Regions from separate parts of the Homo sapiens genome. Here region 2 is linked to region 1. The links are contacts of gene promoters, found by promoter capture Hi-C in blood cells and fetal thymus (Javierre and others, 2016). All regions are on one chromosome and are shown on one strand. The core of a region is centred on a gene start or on the middle of the fragment in contact, and the rest is flanking DNA. Distances in the headings are between cores, read along the strand shown.

Evidence for each region. Contacts are between HindIII fragments. The CHiCAGO score rates a contact against its expected background, and 5 or more counts as called.
Region 2: a contact is called between a fragment that was not itself captured here and the fragment with the promoter of TMBIM1 in region 1, in 13 of 17 cell types (neutrophils, erythroblasts, total CD8 T cells and 10 more). The highest score is 10.5, in neutrophils.

Annotation. Positions count from the first base shown.
Region 1 is chr2:218,288,357-218,294,135 of GRCh38, reverse strand. It overlaps TMBIM1 (transmembrane BAX inhibitor motif containing 1), which reads left to right and starts at 1,633. Exons shown (of 12, transcript NM_022152.6): 1 at 1,633-1,670. All of the region lies in intron 2 of PNKD (PNKD metallo-beta-lactamase domain containing), which reads right to left. RefSeq lists enhancers at 109-955, 1,138-2,100, 2,101-3,065, 3,985-4,484 and a silencer at 1,376-1,855. The HindIII fragment of the contact is 24,107 bases long and covers 1-5,779 here.
Region 2 is chr2:218,346,523-218,351,859 of GRCh38, reverse strand. It overlaps CATIP-AS2 (CATIP antisense RNA 2), which reads left to right. Exons shown (of 4, transcript NR_125777.1): 2 at 634-700. PNKD (PNKD metallo-beta-lactamase domain containing) reads right to left here. Exons shown (of 10, transcript NM_015488.5): 10 at 5,067-5,337. Among named protein-coding and RNA genes, the nearest start is that of MIR6810, 7.3 kb to the right of the region's middle. RefSeq lists an enhancer at 2,396-2,946. The HindIII fragment of the contact is 3,784 bases long and covers 568-4,351 here.

The DNA of each region.
Region 1 (5,779 bases), core at 384-2,883:
GTGGGGACTTCCTAAAATGAGGTTCTTGGCCTGTAGGAACTGGAAGTACACTGAAGGGTTGGGGTGTCTGGGGAGCTAGCCCACCATAACGGCCACTAGTCCCCCTAAGTAACTCCTACTTAAACTATATTTACAGAAATAAACATACATAGTGTGTGTATGGGGGGCAGTTTTTAAAAATCTGTCTTTTTTTTTTTTTTTTTTTTTTAAATCTCTGTTTTGGGGCTGGACGTGGTGGCTCATGTCTGTAATCCTAGCACTTTGGGAGGCCAAAGTGGGCTGACTGCTTTGAGCTCAGGGGTTTGAGACCAGCCTATGCAACAACGTGAAAACCCATCTCTACAAAACAAACAAACCAAACAAAACAAACAAGCAAACAAACAAAATTAGCTGGGTGTAGTGGCACACACTTGTAATCCCAGCTACTCAGGAGGCTGAGGCCGGAGAATCACTTGAAACCAGGAGGAGGATGCAGTGAGCCGAGATGGCGCCACTGCACTCCAGCCTGGGTGACAGAGCGAGACCCTGTCTGGAAAAAAAAAAAAAAAAAAAAAAGGACATTCAGTGGTGGTGTGGTGCTGACCTATAGCTATTAACATGAGATAAGCACTTTAAACAGAGTTGGTCAACTACTGGCAGCCTTGGTGTCATGGAAAGAACTTGGACTTTGGAACCACAGAAACTCAGGCAAGGCTCGGTAATGTTTCTCTTTTTAAATTGAGACAAGGTCTCTCTATGTTGCCTAGGCTGGGTCTCCAACTCCTGGGCTCAAGCCATCCTCTGGCCTTGGCCTCCCAAAAGTGCTAGGATCGCAGGTGTGAGTCACCATGCCCAGGCTCCAGTAATATTTCAGAACTTCCTCAAAACTGTTTCCTCCTTTGCTACTGCATTCTTCACTGAGATGAGGGTTAAGACCTACCTAACAGTAGTAATCTACATCTCAATGTAGGACTTCTGAATTCTGACTTGAGGAAAGCACCTGCTTTCCTGGTTGAGTAATTATAAACAGAGATTCTAGGTTTGCATGTTTGCAGTTTTAAACTCGAAAAGTGCATTTATCTCAAAAACACAGAATTATCAAGGATTTTAATTACTGATTTATTTGTAATGTAAAAATGGGAAACAAACGGCCTCCAGTAGGAAATTAATTTAATCCGCATAGCCATGCAATGGAATACTTCACGGCATTAAGATTGTGCTTTTGAAGACTATTTAGTGAGAAGAAAAATGTTCATCATAAAACAGTAAAAAGAAGGGCAGTAAACAAAACACCATACAATATACCCCACTGTAGAAAAACAAAATACATACAGAAATGTAATAGCCAAAGAAGGACCCAAAGCGAACGCTTCCCCCTGGGAACTAGGAGGGGTGGAGAGAAATTACTTTCTTCCCTGCATTTCTGTGTCTTTTCTAGCTTCCTATCAGTATCATGTATTGCCTTTAAATCCGAAAATACCCCTGTGTTATTAGTGAGGCGTCGTCGGGGCTCTGAGAGGCGCGCGCGCCCGGGACAGACCCCTGCGCCCCCTGGCGGCGCCCTGAGGCCCCGCCCCACGAGGCCGGCGCGACGGGGCGGGGCGCGGAGCCCCAGCCGAGCCTAGCCCTGCCCGGCCCCGGAGGACTTGCAACACTCCGAGGCCAGGAACGCTCCGTCTGGAACGGCGCAGGCAAGCCAGGGGGCCGGGGCCGGCGCCGTTGGGGACTGTGGGCGGTGGGGACTGGTCCAGGGCTGGGGCGGCCATGCGCCGGGGCGCCTAAACTTTTCGGAGCGCGCTCCCGGCTTGCCCGCTCCTGGGCCCAAGGAGCCCGTTCCAGATGGGGATCTCCCCTCCTGGCCCTTGGCGTTTCGCTCTCCCTGGGCGCGCGGGTGGGCGGCCGGGTCTGTGGCACCTGGTTAGCCTTGGGAGCCCAGCAGCGTGTTGTGGGCACTGGTGAGCGGAGCCAGGGTCTGGGGGTGTCCTCGTGTTCCCTCTTTCGGGCACGAGTGGCCTCTCTGTCGCAGGGCCTATCCACCATGCCAGCCCGAGTGGCCAGCTGTGTGGGATGAGGGCTTTCATGGCCCTCAGCTGGTGAGAAGAGGGAAGAGGGAGGGGAGACAGCCAGGGCCTGGCACGGACCCCAGGTTGCCCCCACACGCGCTGAGGCCAGTCTCGGTGTAGACAGGTGAATATTTAAGGGGTGGGGAAGGGGGGGTCCTAGCTTGCAGCTGGGGCAGAAGCCAATGAGCAGCTCAAGTGTTTGGCATGGGGAAGTGGCCACCTCTATCACCATGACTTTGCCCTCTGCCAGTCCCACTTCCAGCCACTGTTTCCCGGCTGGGTTCACAGAACTACAGGGGAGTAACATCCTCCTCGTGACTTCTTTGGGTTAGAGTGAAAACAAAACAGAGAAACGGGAAAAGGGAAAGCAAGTGGAGAGACTGGGGCAGGAGCCAGGGACCAGTGGGAGGAAGCAGAGGGAGGCTGCTGGGAGGCCAGGCCCTGGCCTTGTGGGGTCGGCACCAATTCTTGTCCTATGGGGTCTCCATCTCCTCTCCCTCCTCTGTGGCCTCTACGTGGTACCCAGGAGTTTGGGGTTCTACCTGAGCACCCTGGACATGGGATAAGTAGGCCTGGGAACGCAGGTCAGAGCCAGATGTCATGGAAGGGCCCTCAGGTGTCCAGTTCTCTGGGCTCTGAAATATTCATCTCATTAGTGAGCTTTGGTTTCCAAGCTGGCGACTTTGGGCTGGCCAGTGGTGGCAGGGGAGCCAGGTGCCTCCTGGGGCTGCTTTATTGGCGCAAAGGGGGAGCCATACTTCCTTCTCACCTGCCTCCTCTCTCTGTCTCTCCAGTCATGAGGATCCAGAGAACCAGTTTATAGCTTAAATGGAAGAGGCAGGACCACAGTGTCAGGGGCCCTGTCTTTCTGTGCTATGACCTCAAGGCCTCACTTGTAAAAATGAGCCCTTCAGAGAGGTAATGATGGGTTATCCTGTAAGTGTTGGGAGAGCCTCATGTCATGAGCTGGGGTAATAGCCACCTGGGCTCAGCCTCCTCCCCTGGGAATGGGTGCCTCAGCCAGACGCTGTCTACCTCAGAGCACCTCCAACCGCAGGCCTCACCCTGGGCCTTTCAGAAAAAGCAGAAGCCACAGAGAAGGGAAACACACATACTTGTGTGTTTTCAGAGGGCTGAACTGGGACGACCAGAGAGTGGAAGCTCATACAATTCTCTGGGAAGAAGTTCTGCTAACAACATGTCTGATCATGACATGGGCCTTCTGGACCTATTCTGTTGGGGACACAGTGGAAGGGATGACCTTGACAGAATCTTCCAACCCTAAGATTCTGGGATTCTAGGCCAAAACCTGGGTCTTGTTTTGAAGTAGAAATGATATCCAGAAGTCGACAGGCTACAGTGGCAGGTACCTCCATTGGTGGGAAGGGAGATATTAATGAGCTCCCACTTTTGTCTGTAATGATTTGTGCTTTGCCCCGTTGCACAGAGGTGAGGTTAGGGGTGCCCGTTTCCTGGTTCTGTGGTAGCTGGATATGTCCCCCGGCCCTTGGCAGTAAATCCCACGGTGGGATAGCAGCTGTGTGGAATGGGGGAAGGGGAGGACCCTCGCCAGAGATCCTGGCACTGGGCTGACCCCCTGAGAGTGAGAGGGCATGTCTAGTACTTCATGTGACTGCTCTGAGGGGCAGCTGGGTGTACGCACAGAGGTTATAAGAGACGAGGAGTTAGGATATGAATGATTCTCAGGGTTGGGTGTCTGTAATACAAAGGTGGCCTGGGTCAGCATCCCACAGGGTGTTAATAGGTTTGCCTCGATAAAAGTGGCTCAGGCTTAAGGGAGTTTGAAGGAACACTGGGTTAAACAAAGCTGAACAGGGTTGCTTACTGCAGGACTTCTCAGGGGCAGAATATGCCATTGTGAATTTCCAAGAAGGGGGTGTGGATTGTTTCTCAAGAGTCATCTGTTTCCAGCACTCATTCATTAACGTCTCCTGGGGCGTGTTCTTTAGAACAGTCTGGGAAATGCCTGGCTAGGTGATTCTGTTTCTCCACTGTGGCTCCCATAAACAAGTCCCTACTCCTTTCCCCCACGTGGGCTGATTTAGGGATAAAAGGAGGCCAGGGGAGGTCATTTGCCTGGATTCCTGCAGCTAGTTCATGAACCCAGGTCAGTGGACTTCCTGCCTCCTACTCTTTCTTTCCTAGAGTGTTATATACTGTTTAGCTCGGGCGTAACTGATCACCCAGGAAGAGCTGGCCGTAGGGTCCAGACAGCATTATGGGGACAGTTTGGGAGGGTGTGGACAGCCCCATACTGAGAACATGCCATGTACTTCTGCCTCTGAAGATGTCCTTGGAAACAGTTGCACATCAGTAGTGACCCCCTGGTGTAGGTTCTTGGGGAGCCATGCCATTCTGCCCTGAAGCCTCCTGTTAGGCTGTTCATTCAGAATCAGAAACTGGCAGAGTGGACTTTGATCTTTCAGTTTTTTTTTTTTTTTTTTTTTCTGTCGCCCAGGCTGGAGTGCAGTGGCATGGTCTCGGCTCACTGCAACCTACATCTCCTGGGTTCAAGTGATTCTCCTGCCTCAGCCTCCCGAGAAGCTGGGATTATAGGCATGTGCCACCATGCCCGGCTAATTTTTGTATTTTTAGTAGAGACGAGGTTTCACCATGTTGGCCAGGCTGGTCTCGAACACCTGACCTCAAGTGATCCGCCTGGCTCGGCCTCCCAAAGTGCTGGGATTACAGGCATGAGCCACCGCGCCTGGCCATTCTTTCATTTGAGGGGAATTGTCTTACTGATGTTAAAACTGGGTCTAGAGATGTGGCTCTCACAGTGGAGTGAGTCCCAAAGCCAGGACAAGAACTTCAGGTCCCCACCTCCTAGCCCAGGACCCAGGCTTCAGATCAACTTTCCGCAGGGGAAAGAAATAATGGTAGCAACAACAGCTTGCTCAGCTCCTTTCTATCTATCGTTTTGATCTTTACTGCCTTGGCCCCACCCTGGTGCTGCCTATTCACGCAGGTGCGTGCTACAGATGCCTCAGGGGCTTCTACTCCTGCCTGATATAAAAGCAAAGAGGCTGAATTTTAAATCAGGTGTGAGATCTATGCTTAAACTCATCTCTGCTGTTTGCCTGCTGTGGGACCCTAGATCTCTTTTTTTCTGAATTTCAGTTATCTCATCTATAGAGTGGGATGAGGGTAAGAATACCTCACAGCACTGTTGCAAGGATCAGATGTGCCTTAGTTACTATAGGTTGAGTGTCTCTTATCCAAAATGGGACCATTTTGACAATTTCCTTCCCTCCCTTTTCTTTTACCCACCCCAACTCCCTTCCACCCCCAAGAAAACACTTTACTCTCCTACTCGAGCATATAGTCACGATAGCCATGGGGGCAGACATCTACAGTGGCAGAAGCACATGGATTTTGGATTTTTTCGGATTTGGGGCTATGTATATTATACTTACTGGTTGAGCGTCCCTAATCTGAAAATCCGAAATCAGAAATGCTCCAGTGAGCATTCCTTTGAGTGTCATCTTGGTGCTCAAAATGTTTTAGATTGTGGAGCATTTTGGATTTTGGAAATGAGGGATATTCAACCTGTACTTCCTTAGTTATATAGTAAGTACTGGAAGTGGTTCAACTACTCTAAGTGGTTCCCTTCCTTCCCTAGTTATTTTATTTATTTATTTTTTGAGACAGAGTCTCCCTCTGTTGCCCAGGCTGGAGTGCAGTGGCGCCATTTTGACTCACTGCAAGCTCCGCCT
Region 2 (5,337 bases), core at 1,210-3,709, 57 kb before region 1:
GACTAGCTGAGTTAGGATAAGAACCCCTTCCCCTCCCTTGTTCAGGTGTGCTCTCGCCATTGCTCCATCCGTGAGACACACCCTTGTATGGAAGTAAAATTGCCTTGCTGAGAAAATTAAATTTATGTTTGAGTGCTATTTCTTTTCTTTTTTCTTTTTTTTTTTTTTTTTGAGATGGAGTTTCACTCTGTGGCCCAGGCTGGAGTGCAGTGGTGCGATCTCGGCTCACTGCAAGCTCTGCCTCCCAGGTTCACACCATTCTCCTGCCTCAGCCTCCTGAGTAGATGGGACTATGGGCGCCCACCACCACGCCTGGCTAATTTTTTGTGTTTTTAGTAGAGACGGGGTTTCACCGTGTTAGCCAGGATGGCCTTGATCTCCTGACCTTGTGATCTGCCCACATCGGCCTCCCAGATTGCTGGGATTACAGGTGTGAGCCACCGCACCTGGTCTTGAGTGCTATTTCTTTTGCAGCCCTGATAATTTATTTCTAAAAGGACTAAAGTTTATTCATAATTAGTGCTTACCAAAAATGAGGACTGAAGAGAAAAATTTTGATCCAAAGCTTATCATACATTTGTCATTAAATCCTAGTTTCATTAATTGTTTTTAAACTTTTTGCTTACATTTTAGACTAACCCTGCTTATTCCTGTGAATCAAGAGGTGATCTTCTGCAGCTTGGAAAAAAAAAAGCGATGGGTAAGGTAAAAAGGTGAATCAATACTCTAGTTCTGGGCAATTATCTTGCAAATTTTGCCAGGTAAAGAAAGTGAGTAAGGTGCTCATAACCGGGAGGTTTCTTTGTTTGGGAAAATAAAACCAAGGAACTTCAGAGACCCTAAAAGGGGAATTCTATATCTTGGCAAGTAAAAAATTTTTTTTGAGACAGAATTTCACTCTTGTTGCCCAGGCTGGAGTGTAATGGCACAATCTTGGCTCACTGCAATCTCCGCCTCCCAGGTTCAAGCAATTCTCCTGCCTCAGCCTTCTGAGTAGCTGGGATTACAGGCATGCACCACCATGCCCCGCTAATTTTTTGTATTTTTTTGTAGAGACGGGGTTTCTCCATGTTGGTCAGGCTGGTCTTGAACTCCCGACCTTAGGTGACCTGCCCACCTTGGCCTCCGAAAGTGCTGGGATTGCAGGCTTAAGCCACCGCGTCCGGCCGGCAAGTAAAATATTAGGTGGAAATTATCTACCACACTACACTTGTGGAAATTGCTGTCCTCACTCTACTATTTGCAATAGTGTTATACACAGTAGCACCTTCTAACTAAAATATTGGACAGTTTCCATTGCTGTCCTATTTTGCTTAATTATTATCCTTATAACCGGGATAATAGTTATTGACAAAAAGGAAGCATAAAAGTTTTACTATCACTAAGTCAGCTAGGACTTTTTAATTGGGTTTAGTGATGCACTTTTTTTGGTGGGGGATGGAGTTTTGCTGTCTTGCCCAGGCTGGAGTGCAGTGGTGCAATCTTGACTCACTGCAAGCTCTGCCTTCCGGGTTCACACCATTCTCCTGCCTCAGCCTCCTGAGTAGCTGGGACCACAGGTGCCCGCCAGCACGCCTGGCCAATTTTTTGTATTTGTTTAGTAGAGACAGGGTTTCACTGTGTTACCCAGGATGGTCTCGATCTCCTGACCTCATGATACGCCCGCCTCGGCCTCCCAAAATGCTGGGATTACAGGCATGAGCCACCGCACCTGGCCCTAGTGATGCACTTTTAAATGAAACATGCTGCTTTTGGATTAACACCTAGTAAAGTAAAGGAAAATCTACAGGTACCTAAAGATAAAATCAAAATTATTAACAGGCTCAGGGAAAATGCCAGCTTCAGCCCTCAGTGGCTACAATCCCTCTTTAATAAATTACAGTCTTCTTTATGGAATGGTTAATCCGTTTATTAAGCCCTCTCTTGCTTATATGTCTTGTATTGATATTTGGACGAAGTCTACTCAGTACTATAACTCAAATTGTTTCTTCTCGCCTAGAAGCAATCAAACCCCAAATGGTGCTGCAAACTGAACCACACACGGACACGCCATTCTTCCAAGAACCCCTAAATCAACCCCAGCAGGAGCCCTGGCTGCTGTTCCCCATTCAACATCCCTTTTCAGTAGGAAATAGCCAGAAAGAGTCGTTGCCCAAAACCCCTTAACAGCAGTTAGCGTGATATCGCCGCAGGGAGGAATGTGGTAGGAGTTATTAAGAATAAGAAATTGAGGCCAGGCACGGTGGCTCATGCCTGTAATCCCAGCACTTCGGGAGGCTGAGGCGGGTGGATCATGAGGTCAGGAGATCGAGACCATCCTGGCTAACACGGTGAAACCCCACCTCTACTAAAAATACAAAAAATGAGCCGGGCGTGGTGGTGGGCGCCTGTAGTCCCAGCTACTCAGGAGCCTGAGGCAGGAGAATGGTGTGAACCTGGGAGGCGGGGCTTGCAGTGAGCAGAGATCGTGCCACTGCACTCCAGTCTTGGGCAACAGAGCAAGACTCAGTCTCAAAAAAAAAAAAAAAAAAAAAAGAAAGAAATTGGCAGGTGAGGTGGCTCACGCCCCTGTAATCCTGGCACTTTGGGAGGCTGAGGTGGGCGGATCACAAGGTCAGGAGATCAAGGCCATCCTGGCTAACACGGTGAAACCCTGTCTCGACTAAAAATACGAAAAATTAGCTGGGTGTGTGGCATGCACCTGTAGTCCCAGCTACTTGGGAGGCTGAGGCAGGAGAATCGCTTGAACCCGGGAGGTGGAGGTTGTAGTGAGCCGAGATCGCACCACTGCACTCCAGCCTGGTGACAGAGGGAGACTCTGTCTCAAAAAACAAAAAAAAGAAGACAGCCGCCCCGTCCGGGAGGGAGGCGGGGTCCAGCCCCCGGCCGGCCAGCCGCCCCATCAGGGAGGGAGGGGGGGACAGCCCCCGCCCGGCCAGCCGCCCCGTCCGGGAGGTTGGGGGCGCCTCCGCCCGGCCGCCGCCCCGTTGGGAGGTGGGGGGCGCCTCTGCCCGGCCACCCCTTCTGGGAAGTGAGGAGCCCCTCTGCCTGGCGGCCACCCCATCTGGGAGGTGTACCCAACAGCTCATTGAGAACGGGCCATGATGACGATGGTGGTTTTGTGGAATAGAAAAGGGGGAAATGCGGGGAAAAGATAGAGAAATCAGATTGTTGCTGTGTCTGTGTAGAAAGAAGTAGACATAGGAGACTCCATTTTGTTCCGTACTAAGAAAAATTCTTCTGCCTTGGGATGCTGTTGATCTATGACCTTACCCCCAACCCTGTGCTCTCTGAAACATGTGCTGTGTCCACTCAGGGTTAAATGGATTAAGGGCGGTGCAAGATGTGCTTTGTTAAACAGATGCTCGAAGGCAGCATGCTCGTTAAGAGTCATCACCACTCCCTAATCTCAAGTACCCAGGGACACAAACACTGCGGAAGGCCGCAGGGTCCTCTGCCTAGGAAAACCAGAGACCTTTGTTCACTTGTTTATCTGCTGACCTTCCCTCCACTATTGTCCTATAACCCTGCCAAATCCCCCTCTGCGAGAAACACCCAAGAATGATCAATTAAAAATAAATAAATAAATAAATAAAAGAAGACATACATGTGGACAACAAACATATGAATAAAAGCTCAACATCACTCATCATTAGAGAAATGCAAATCAAAACCACAATGAGATACCATCTCACACAAGTCAGAATGGCTGTTATTAAAAAGTCAAAAAATAACAGACGCTGGAAAGGTTGTAGAGTAAAAGGAACGCTTATACACTGTTGGCGGGAGTGTAAATTTGTTCAACCAAAGTGGAAGACAGTGTGGTGTTTCCTCAAAGACCTAAAGACAGAACTACCATTCGACCCAGCAATCCCATTACTGGTTATATACCCAAAGGAATATAAGTTGTTCTATTATAATGATATGGTGTGGCTTTTTGTCCCCACCCAAATTTCATCTTTTTTTTTTTTGGGACAGAATCTCCCTCTGTTGCCCAGGCTGGAGTACAGTGGTGCGATCTTGGCCTACTTCAACCTCTGCCTCCCGGGTTCAGCGATTCTCGTGCCTCAGTCTCCTGGGTAGCTGGGATTACAGGCGCTCACCATCATGCCTTGCTAAGTTTTGTATTTTTAGTAGAGACGGGGTTTCACCATGTTGGCCAGGATGGTCGTGATCTCCTGACCTCGTGATCCGCCTGCCTCAGCCTCCCAAAGTGCTGGGATTACAGGCGTGAGCCACCACGCCCGGCCCTTTAATCATTTTTATGAACTGAAAACCAGTGTCACTTGTCAAAAATAAATATTGAACCCAAATATAAATATAATGAAAACAAAACGATGTTGTTAAAGCTTAACTACAGACATTTCCCAACTAAAGTATGAACCTGGATCCCGGGTCTTTCTTTCCAAAGACATTAAAGACAGACTAGTGCCAAGACCGTGTCCTTGAAGTCCAATTGATTGCTGTGCTGTGGCCATGTACAGCCACCCTACTTTGGCCAGTGGTACACTTGTGTATCTCAAGCTTTGGGAAACATTGAGATAAGCAAATCGTAAACCCTGAACAAATGCCCATGGGCCTTGGGAAGAACATATTTTAGGCATCATTTCTCTCTCTCTTTTTAAAAAAATTTTTTTTTTTTTTGAGACAGAGTCTCATTCTGTCGCCCAGGCTGGAGTGCAGTGGTGCGATCTCGGCTCACTGCAACCTCCGCCTCCTGGGTTCACGTGATTCTCCTGCCTCAGCCTCCTGAGTAGCTGGGATTATAGGCTCCTGCCACTATGTCTGGCTAATTTTTTGTATTTGTAGTACAGATGAGGTTTCACTATGTTGGCCAGACTGGTCTCGAACTCCTGACCTTGTGATCCACCCGCCTCAGCCTCCTAAAGAGCTGGGATTATAGGTGTGAGCCACTGCGCCCAGCCTTTGGGCATCATTTCTGATCAAAACTCTTGAAGTGCCTAACTGCAAGTTAGCAGGCCTGGAACTGAGATGGGAAAACTGTGAGAAAGTTCTCTGCTGTTTTCACTCATGTAGCAACAAAGACAAGCTGTTGGGTGATCAAGTCTTGATTAAATCATTCATTCATTCAACATTTATTGAGCGCCTACTGTGTGCTAGGCACCGTGCTAGGCGCAGAAATACAGAGATGCATAAGATACAGTCCATGCCCTTAAGGATTCACAGTCTAGAAGGGGAGACAAACATGTAAACAAGTAAAATACAGTGTGATAAGTGCCACAAGAGAAGCATTGACAAAGTGCAGAGGTAGCCTGGAGGGGAGGGGCACAGGGGTTGCCTTCCTGGAGGAGGGGGCCTTTGAGGGGATCGTGAGAG